Linked DNA regions of Homo sapiens: regions 1 and 3 are each linked to region 2. The links are contacts of gene promoters, found by promoter capture Hi-C in blood cells and fetal thymus (Javierre and others, 2016). All regions are on one chromosome and are shown on one strand. Each heading gives the region's core, a stretch centred on a gene start or on the middle of the fragment in contact. The rest is flanking DNA. Distances are from core to core; before and after follow the strand shown.

The links. Contacts are between HindIII fragments. The CHiCAGO score rates a contact against its expected background, and 5 or more counts as called.
Region 1: a contact is called between a fragment that was not itself captured here and the fragment with the promoter of DOLPP1 in region 2, in 6 of 17 cell types (endothelial precursors, neutrophils, non-activated CD4 T cells and 3 more). The highest score is 8.6, in endothelial precursors.
Region 3: a contact is called between a fragment that was not itself captured here and the fragment with the promoter of DOLPP1 in region 2, in 1 of 17 cell types (monocytes). The highest score is 7.4, in monocytes.

What each region holds. Positions count from the first base shown.
Region 1 is chr9:129,631,460-129,634,867 of GRCh38, reverse strand. NTMT1 (N-terminal Xaa-Pro-Lys N-methyltransferase 1) reads right to left here. Exons shown (of 4, transcript NM_014064.4): 2 at 2,003-2,218; 3 at 562-814. The coding sequence starts at 2,164. ASB6 (ankyrin repeat and SOCS box containing 6) reads left to right here. Exons shown (of 6, transcript NM_017873.4): 6 at 1-263. Among named protein-coding and RNA genes, the nearest start is that of NTMT1, 7.0 kb to the right of the region's middle. RefSeq lists an enhancer at 2,727-3,408. The HindIII fragment of the contact is 2,612 bases long and covers 222-2,833 here.
Region 2 is chr9:129,079,622-129,082,682 of GRCh38, reverse strand. DOLPP1 (dolichyldiphosphatase 1) reads right to left here and starts at 1,572. Exons shown (of 8, transcript NM_020438.5): 1 at 1,476-1,572. The coding sequence starts at 1,551. RefSeq lists a silencer at 1,145-1,874. The HindIII fragment of the contact is 2,856 bases long and covers 1-2,244 here.
Region 3 is chr9:129,774,255-129,777,506 of GRCh38, reverse strand. No RefSeq gene overlaps it. Among named protein-coding and RNA genes, the nearest start is that of PTGES, 23 kb to the right of the region's middle. RefSeq lists enhancers at 43-337, 1-483, 1,875-2,441. The HindIII fragment of the contact is 3,905 bases long and covers 1-3,252 here.

The DNA.
Region 1 (3,408 bases), core at 278-2,777, 550 kb before region 2:
AGCTCCCAGAGAGACTGCCTTCCCTACACTAGAAGTCCCCACAAAGGCTTCTGAGACCACAAAATACAAGGCCAGACCTAGAGTGTCCACAGCAGGCCTGTGCTGCCCGCCTCAGGAGGTGGCCGACTGCTGCTAGCGGCCTGCCGCCACGTCAGCAGCCCAGGGCACAGCGCTCGAGGTGTGCTGTTAGGCTAAGAGGGTGCAGGGCTAGACACGAAGCTTAAACTATTCATCTTATTAAAAATAAAACCCTTATAAAACTCCTCACTTTGAATGCAGTAAGTTATTGGCCATTAAAATTTTTTCAACAAAAAACTGCACCCAAATGGATGGTAGCAGGTATTCAACTGAAACAAAACCTAGAAGGAAGAAATCTACCTTTTAGGCCGAGCCTGTCCCTCAGTCCTGGGAAGTACGGGGTGGGGGTGGGCCTGGGCGGGGTGGGGAATCCTCACTGGCCCACTTGCTGCAGGAGTGCAAAGCCCTGGTCCTGACACCTTATGGGGAACGCGAGTGGCAGGAGACATACAGGTGAGCAGGGAAGGGCGGTGGAACCCTCACCTATCACCCACTGGATCCAGATCACGTCGTAAGAGTCCGGCTCCGGGGTGAAGTCCTGGAGCCCACAACAGAAGTAGTTCCTCACCCTCTTGCCCTCCTCCCCCAGGTAGGTCTTGGCTTGAACCAGGAAGTCCTCCGTTATGTCGACCATATCCACCTCTCTGAACAGCGGCAGGAGCAGCCGCTTGGTGATCCTCCCAATGCCAGCTCCACAGTCCAGGGCACAGGACGTTCCTGTCTTGTTCGGGCCTTCCTGAAAAGCAGAGGCATATAACCTATCAGAGGGACCCTGTCACCGCACGTGCGGCCCTTCCTCACGAGCCCTAGGACTTAGACTCAAGTCAGGATTCCAGGACTCCGCACAAGCTGAGCACTGGTGGGGAGGTCTGTGCTGGCTGCCAGCTTGTACGGAGTCGAGGGGATGAGCATGGGAGGACACACTGCTGGGCCACACATTCCTTTATCTTTGAAAGTTCAGGTTGCATTCTGCATTCTGTTCAGGTTGGAATGCAGTGGTGGGATCATGGCTCACTGTAGCCTCGAACTCCTGGGCTCAAGCCATCCTCCATCTTCCCACCTCAGCCTCCCAAGTAGCTGGGACTACAGGCATGCGCCACCATGCCCAACTCATTTTTTTTTTTTTGTATTTTTTGTAGAGACGGGGCCTCGGTCTGTTGCCCAGGCTGGTCTCAAACTCCTGGGCTCAAGCAATCCTCTCACCTTGGCATCCCAAGGGGCTGGGATGACAGGAGTGAGCCACTGCCCCTGCCCTGGGCCACACATTTCTAAATGAAAGCTAATTTCCACTTAAAGGTGATAACTTGAACAGGTGCACTAATCTCTCCTGAGTCTCCAGGTAAACAACGGCAGAGAGGAATGGGGAGAATGGAAGCGGGGCAACAGGTGAACAAGGGTGCAGAGAGGGAACATGGAGGGAGGGGAGGCGCTGGATGGAGCAGGTGGCCAACAGCAGCCTCCAGTGCCAGCCATGAGACAAGAAGGTGGGGGGCTCCAGGACTGGGGGTCCCAGCCTGGTACAGAAAAGGCTGGGGGTGGAGCAGAGGGTGGAAACCATGGCACATAACTAGGAGTCTTCGTCCAGAATAGCCAACACCCTCAGTCCAAACACCCGTGGACATGGCAGGAGAGCAAGGGTTTCGTCCCTGGCAAAACCCAACAGTTGAAGAGAGGTTTGCCCAATTCAGGCACCTCAATTCTGCCTAACAGCCAGCTCCTGTCTGGTAACCCTGAGGCTAAGTCCACAATCTAGAAGTTACCCCACTGTGCCCACCCAGCCCAGCTCCTCAAGGCTTTGGGGTAGGTACCAAGAGATAGCCAACAATCCTGCAGTGTTACATGTGTAAAAGGTGGCACCCCACATGGACTCGGCAGTGCCACCAGAGCCACAGCCTCTCCTGGAGAGCACGCCAGACCTGCCTACCCTCAAAAACCTCTGCAGAAACTTCCGGGAGCTGTTGATGTCGATGCTGGAGATGTGGCCATACCCCCCAAGCATGCCGTCCACCGTGGGTGGGATTTGTTTCCAGTAGGTCTTGGCCTTGGAATAGAATTGCTTCTCGTCTTCTATCACCTCGCTCGTCATGCTGTCACCAACCACGGCTCTACTCAAGCACCACGATCAGCAACCGCGACTCTCCTGGGTAAGGAAGGGGGCGTGAGTCAGCGGGCCAGGGACCTGGCAGAAAGGCCCCCAGGGCAGAGGGCCAGTCTCACACCAGGCTTCACAAGTCACACATCCTGCTGAGTGCAGAGAGAAGTCCAGGGTCCCCAAATCTGCTTCTACCCCTTGGATAACAGCATCTTCTGTCTTTTGCACTCAGAGCACCCGCCCCAAGTCCTGGCTTCAAGTTCTTTTACATTTTTATTTTTTCTGGAGTGCAGTGGTGTGATCATAGCTCAATGCAGCCTCCAACTCCCGAGCTCAAGAGACCCTCCCACCTCACCCTCCGGAGCAGCTAGGACTACAGTTGTGTGCCACCATGCCTGGCTAATTATTTTTTGTAGAGATGGGGTCTCACTATGTTACAAAGGTTGGTCTTGAAGTCCTGACCTCAAGAGATTCTCCCACCTTGGCCTCCCAAAGTGCTGGGATTACGGGTGTGAGCCCATGTGCCTGGCCTGGCTTCAAGTTCTTGATATGCTCTATATGACACCTGACTCAGTGGCTTCAGGGCACAGAAAACCCTGATCAATAAAGAGAAACGACCGCAAAGCCGAGAGCACCAGCAGACCCTGGAGGGCCAGGGAAGCTTCCACGCCTCCCTTCCTCTGGCTCAGAGCACAGCAACAACTCACGGTGGGGTCCAGTCCTCCGTTAACAAGGAGTGGGGACTCTGTGCCAGGCACCGGGCTGTGAACCAGGCAGCCAGCCAGGCAGAAAACAATTCTACAGACACAACCACACCTGCAGGGAGGGCTGCAGAGGAGAAGCGCCAGTGCCAGCAGAGCACGGAGGGAGGAAGTGGAGTCGGGTGCGGGGACCAGGGAAGGCATCCCTGAGGAGGGGACGCGTAAGCTGAAACCGATGGATGGGCAAGAATAAGCGCAGTAGGTGGAGGGCGACGGCACTGCTCCTGGAGGGAAGGACAGACAGCCCTCGCGGCTGCCAGTTCCTGGTCTCACAGTCAACTCTAGCAGTTTCGACTGCATCCTACAGAGCAATGAGTCAACCACCCTGAGGCCCAACAGAGAGTGGCCCGGGAAGACCGATGCTTCTGAAGACTGCTGGCGGCGGTGGAGATGGCAGGGGGATGAGGAGACGGTTGCCACGGTAGAAGGAGAGAGAACTAGAAAGCCTCAGCTGGGTCCTGGCAGCAGAGCCCAGGC
Region 2 (3,061 bases), core at 323-2,822:
GACTAGACCTCACCAGATGCTCCAGGCTCAGCCAGGTCCATCACAGCCTGTATCATGCTGCACACAACTGCCTGCCAGGTTCCTTCTGGCTTGTTGGATTGTGAGCACTCCAAGAAGCTACTCTGAGGCCAGGAGGGGAAGCTGTGAAGGTGCAGAGGCCTTAGCAAGTCTTTCCCCACCTCCAGGCTTTGGCTTTCCTCTTATAAAGCAGCTGGTTTTCATAGTGCAGGAATGCAGGGATATTTCAGGCCTGTTAAGCATTCTAAAAACCAGAGCTAGCCCAGGGCCTAGCACTCAGAAGTGTTCAGTGGATATTGACTGAATGAATGAATGGATGAATGAATGGTAGACAGGCAGGCAGGCAGGGCCCAGGACCTGGCAGGGCCATACCACCCCCAGTACAACCCAGAACACCAGCGTCAACGTTCTTTGGCATTCAGTCCTGGTGCCCTCAGCGGACCCAGGTTCTCACATCTCGCAAGACAGCAGCATGAGCAGGCCCTTCCCAGGCAACCAGGGCTCAATGAGGGGCTCCAGCCTTCCCTGGCACTCAACCATCTTACCCAGGGAGGGTCTTGCAAGGTGGGATAACATTAACTGCAGGTATTTACTGAACGCTTACTGCATGCCGGGCACTGTACTCAGCCCTTCTTGTGCCTCCTGCTATTTGATGCTCATACCATCACCAGAAGGTAAGCACTGTAATCAGTCCCACTTTAGAGATGAATTAACTTAAGCAGAGGCAGGCACCTGCACAAGGCCTCAGCCTCAACTGGAGCCCAGATGGGTCTGACCCCCACGCCCAGGCTCTGCGCCACTCTTACTAGACAGCCTCCAGAACGCCGCTAATGGACCTCTCAACTGGAAAGCCCTGCACTTCGAGAGGTGTGTCTGATGGGAAGCAACAGAAGTCAAGTTCCCGGAGGCTGCCCGCCCCCTCATCGGGTCCTCTCTGTTGTGGAATCGTGCCCTGCTCAGGGCGTGGCACCACAAGTACTCAAAAGCCTGGCTTCGGCTTGCACACTCCCAGCAACGGGGAGCTCTTTCTCTTACAAGCAGCCCAAAGCACTGTTCGAAGGAAACAAGACACTCCCTGCACGCTGGAACAGGAGTGCGGCCTCTCTGGGACAGGGGAGGGCGGGGAAGAAGGGCCAAGGTCCAGGCCAGGGATCTTTTCTCGCCTCACACAGATCCTCAACCCATTTCAGCCCACCGGCGCCCCGGGACCCGGGGGAGCGCCCTGGCCGCGCAGCCGCAGAGTGCGCGAGCGAGCGCCTCACAATTTCGCCCAGCTCATCCTCGCACCACTGCGCCTGCGCGGCGCGCGCGCCGGCCGAGCCCCTCCGTGGTTCACTATTTGACAGTTCCCACCCCGGTCCCCCGGCGCCCCCTCCGCGGGCTCGAGCAGGCCGGAGCGCCCGGGACTGAGAGGCCGTCCCTGGGAAGGCGTCCTTGGAGCCGGGACCGCCTTTTACCTGCAGGATATTCGACGTGGGTGAGGGTCACCGGCCGCCATGAAGCGGGGAGCGAGCACTGTCCGTCCGCTGCCATCTTACCCGGAGACCGGGCTTCTTCGAGCAGCCAATGGGGAGCCAGGGGGGCGGTGGTCCTGACCTATCACGCCGGGGAGGCGCCGTGCACCCAATCGGAGGCCAATATAGGTAGCGGCGCAGCCATTCAGCGTGCAGGCCGTGGGGGCTGGCCCGAGCGGCGAATCAGAGAGCGGGGCCCCTGGGAGCCAACGAGCCGCCCCAGCTGGCGCCCAATCTGGGGCGAGCGCAGGTAGGCATCTGGCCAATCAGAGAAGGGGAGGGTTCCAGCACCGAACAGGGAGCATAACAGCCAATCAGAAGGTGAGGCTGCCTCAGCTTGTGGGCAGGGCGGGCCAATCAGGCGCTGGCTTTGGGGGCGTGTTGAACTTTGGTGGGAGCTTTGGTTCGGCTGGGACCTGCGCCCTGAATGAAGGCTTCCCTGGTACCCCCTGCCGATCCGCGGTCTTGGGGACCTGCGCGTCCGATAGCGCGTGCTCGAAGAGGAGAGGCAACCTCAGCTCCAGGGGGTTTGAACCGACCCACTTTCAGTTACGAGTAAACTGAGACCAGAGAGCAGAGGGGGCTTATTTCCCTCTGCCCCATACTGGCCGGCGAAAGGGCAAGTCACACAGAGCAGGCGACCTTTTTGTCAAAAGTGTGTGGGGCGGGGCGCGCAGTAGGCGCCCTAAACGCTGGACTGAACAGAGAAGCTTAATTGATACTTAAGAGTGGAAGCTTAGCTACAGTTAAGGACTCCTTCCTCCTTTCATTCATTTAATAAAGATTTATTGATTCAGTCACGTCTATGCTACTTAATGAGGCGTCTTGGGAGCATTTCAAACAAGAAGTCGGTTTTCCACCTACCCCTCAGTTTTCCCAAGACATTCCTGCGTGAACAGCCACACCTTCCCACCCGCCTTCACCTCTCCTACCCGACTCTGTCTCTGGCTGGATTGGATTACAGTGCAGGTAAGGTGGGCTGGGAGGGCTCAGCCTCTTGTCTCCTGCCGCTAGCATGTGCTGTTTTTGTCTGTTTGTTTGTTTTTTGAGACAGGGTCTTGCTCTGAGGCCCAGGCTGGAGTGCAGTGGAACGATCTTGCTCAGCCTCCTGGGTCCAAGTGATTCTCCTGTCTCAGCCTCCCGAGTAGCTGTGACTACAGGCGCGCACCACCGCATCCGGCTAATTTTTGCATTTTTAGTAGAGACCGGGTCTTACCATGTTGGGCAGGCTGGTCTCGAACTCCTGGCCTCAGGTGATCCACCTGCCTCGGCTCCCAAAATGCTGAGATTACAAGCGTGAGCCGCCATGCCCAGCTAATTTTTTTTTTTTTTTTTTGAGACGGAGTCTCGCTCTGTTGCCCAGGCTGGAGTGCAGTGGCACGCCCGGCTAATTTTCGTACTTTTCGTAGAGACGGGGTTTCACCGTGTTGGTCAGGATGGTCTTGATCTCCTGACCTCGTGATCCGCCCACCTCGGCCTCCCAAAGTGCTGGGATTACAGGTGTGAGCCACCGCCCCTGGCCACCATGT
Region 3 (3,252 bases), core at 657-3,156, 690 kb before region 2:
GCAAACAGGGTCTTCATCTGCCCAGCATCTGAACCCTAACCGCAGAGGGTTGAGAGACAGAGGAGGGGGCCCCCACAGGGCCTGTGGTTTGAGTGAGGAAAGCAATTGTGTAAAAGTGGAGAGCCTTTCCGCAGCCCAGGGCCAGTCCCTGCCTGAGTCATGCTAGAGAGAGAGGGAGGAGCAGGCAGGATCCTGGAGCTCCCTGGATTTCAAGCTGGCCGTGGCCTCCCGGGTGACGTCACTGCGGTCATTGCCTGATGAGCTCAGGCAGAGGCGCCTGGGGACGGGGTAAGTGGTGAGAGGGAGGGCCACGGCTGTCTTGGGTGAACCCCAGGCTCCAGTTGGAGACTCTGCTGTGGCAAGAGGTCCACCCCACCCCCGGGCGCCATCTGGGGACACTCCGGCATCCCATTCCAATGGCTGTTCTGCCAGGGCCTCACCCTGGCTCTTGGTCTTAGGACTGCTGTGTTTGCCTGCCTAGGTGTGCGGGTCAATCTGTGCAGAGCTGGGGAGCAAGTGATCACTGGGAGCAAAGACAGCTTTCAGCCTGGAGGGAGAAGCATTTCTTCCCGCTAGGATAATGGCCAATTCAGAGGCCCTAGACCATGCTGTCCCCAGAGCCTGGGTGCATTGCTGATGACGAGATCCCAGCCGGGGGTCAGGCCTCCCAGGACTGTCAAGCTGGGCTGCTTGAGTCCCTGGCTCCAGGGGTGGGGGTGGGGCTGAATGGCAAGGGAGAGAGCTGGTCCATTCCAGGCTCCAACCTCAGAACCCTCTGGGAGTAAGATTACCCAGCCCTGTGCTCGGGCTGAGCAATCAACTATAGCGCACACGCTCCTTTACTGTGGTTCCGAGATAGTTAATTGAAATCTGGATACTCTGGGTAAAGTCAGAACATCCAGCTGGGCCCAGCATGGGAGATCAGCTTGATGAGTCTCCCGCACCCTATTCTGGGCATCAGCAGAGTCAGTTCTCTGAAGAGTCTTTTTCATATATATCACATAGATAGAGAGATAGGCAGGTTGGTAGGTAGGTAGATAGGTCAATAGGTAGGTAGGTAGGTAGTTAGACATAGGTATCTATCTATCTATCTATCTATCTATCTATCTATCTATCTATCTATCTATCTATCTATCTTACTGTAGTTTAGCACAGACATTGGTTAAGTCATGTCACTCCTCTGAACCTCAATTTTCTCATCTCTAAAATGGGGATATTAGGCCGGGCGAGGTAGCTCATGCCTGTAATCCCAGCACTTTGGGAGGCCAAGGCAGGTGGATCACCTGAGGTCAGGAGTTCAAAACCAGCCTGGCAAACATGGTGAAACCCTGTCTCTACTAAAAAATACAAAAAAAATTAGCCAGGTGTGGTGGCACGCACCTGAAGTCCCAGCTACTCGGGAGGCTGAGGCAGGAGAATTGCTTGAGACTGGGAGCCAGAGGTTGCAGTGAGCCAAGATCACACCATTGCACTCCAGCCTGGGTGACAGAGCAAGACTCTGCCTCTAAAAAATATAAAATAAAATAAAATAAAATAGAGATAATAATAGACCCACCTCCTAGGATTGCTACATGAGGGCAATGAACTGATCTACATAAAGCACCAAGCATAGTGTCTGGCAGGTAAAGTTGGCCAGTAATGTCATCAACATTGTTATATAATAATAATTATTGTCATTAATTTTATTGCCCAACTGGCGTCCCAGCCTGAGCTGAAGCTCTGTCTCTTGGCCACCCTGTCCAGGAGGTATGAGCCTGTTTTCTTGGGCCAGATCTTCTGCTTGGCTTGAAGCCAAAGTGTGACTTCCCAACCTCTGCATGCAGCCCCCTCCCCAGGGTGCTGGTTGGTCTCTCCTCTCAGCTGCTGCTGCAATGTGCTTCACAGTGACAACACACCCACAGCTCCAGTGGCAGTTGATGCATCCTTGTGGCCAGAATCATGCCTGGCAGGACGCATGTGGCAAAGGGCTTGTCTGGGTCGGTGCTATGCTCTCTGTGCCAGGGAAAATCCAGCTCTTGGAGTGGGTGAGAGCAGGGAGGCCTTCATGGTGGTGGAGTTAGGGGATGGGAGAGACAGGGAAGCAATGAGGGGCTTGCACAGAAAATATCGTTTTACCCTAAGTACCCAGATGACAAATGAGACCCAAAATGACCTTTGGCAGGGGCCGTGGCTTCTGGGGACCCCAGCGTTTGACAGAGCAGGTGGCAGAGCCGCAGGACCCAGCTCTAGTGTGTGGCAGTTTGTTGGTTTCATTGCCGTTGCTGGGCCAGACGTGCACTGAGGACCCCGGGATAAAGGGGTTTACTGTGAGGATGCTGGGGCCCAAGACCTCGTGGGCACAGGACCCAGGTGAAGACCCCAGGGCCCGTGAAGAGCCGAAGTGGATTTCACTGTAGGGGCTTCTTGTCATCCCCAGGGGTACACATTCTTGTGGCCGCTCCTGCTGCTGGCAGCCGAGTCCTTGGCCACGAGCCCAGCCTCCTCTGGGGGGTGGGTCTCAGCCCAGGCCCACATCGGGCTGTTGATTTCATTGGCTGCTGGCTGGCCTCGCCATTGGCTGCTTGCAGCCAGGTGCTCACCCCTGCCCATCAGCTGTGGCCATGGTGGTGCCAGCAGGGAGAGGAGCATGTGACTTGCACGTGAGGAGTAGCCGAAGGCTTCTTCCCTAGGGGACATGTGTCTACCTCGGGGCGATGCGTCTACCTGTGGATGGGGAGGGACCCCTTATTGGGGCCCAGGCAGGTCCGCATTCTGGGCCTTGTCCAGTACACCCTCTGGTTTCCAACCAGCCAACCAGGCTCCTGGGGGACCCACCAACCCTCCCCTTTCTTCTCCGTACTTCTCTCCTCACCTGGTAGACACACATGTCTTCATTTTGGTTCTTACGTTGAGAGACAAACCCATCCTTCCCTCCCTTTCTTCCTTCCTCCCTCCCTCCCTCCCTCCCTCCCTTCCTTCTCTCTCCCCTTCCTTCCTTCCTTTCTTTCTTTCTTTCTTTCTTTCTTTCTTTCTTTCTTTCTTTGTTTCTTTCTTTCTTTCCTTCCTTCCTTCTTTCTTTCTTTCTTTGTTGGTTTCTTTCTTTCTTTGTTTCTTTCCTTCCTTCTTTGTTTGTTTGTTTCTTTGTTTCTTTCTTTCTTTCTTTTTTCTTCCTTTCTTTCTTTCTCTCTGTCTCTCTTTCTCTCTTTCTTTTCTTTCTTTCTTGCACCTAGGTTGGAGTGCAGTGGCATGATCATGGCTCACTGCAGCCTCGAC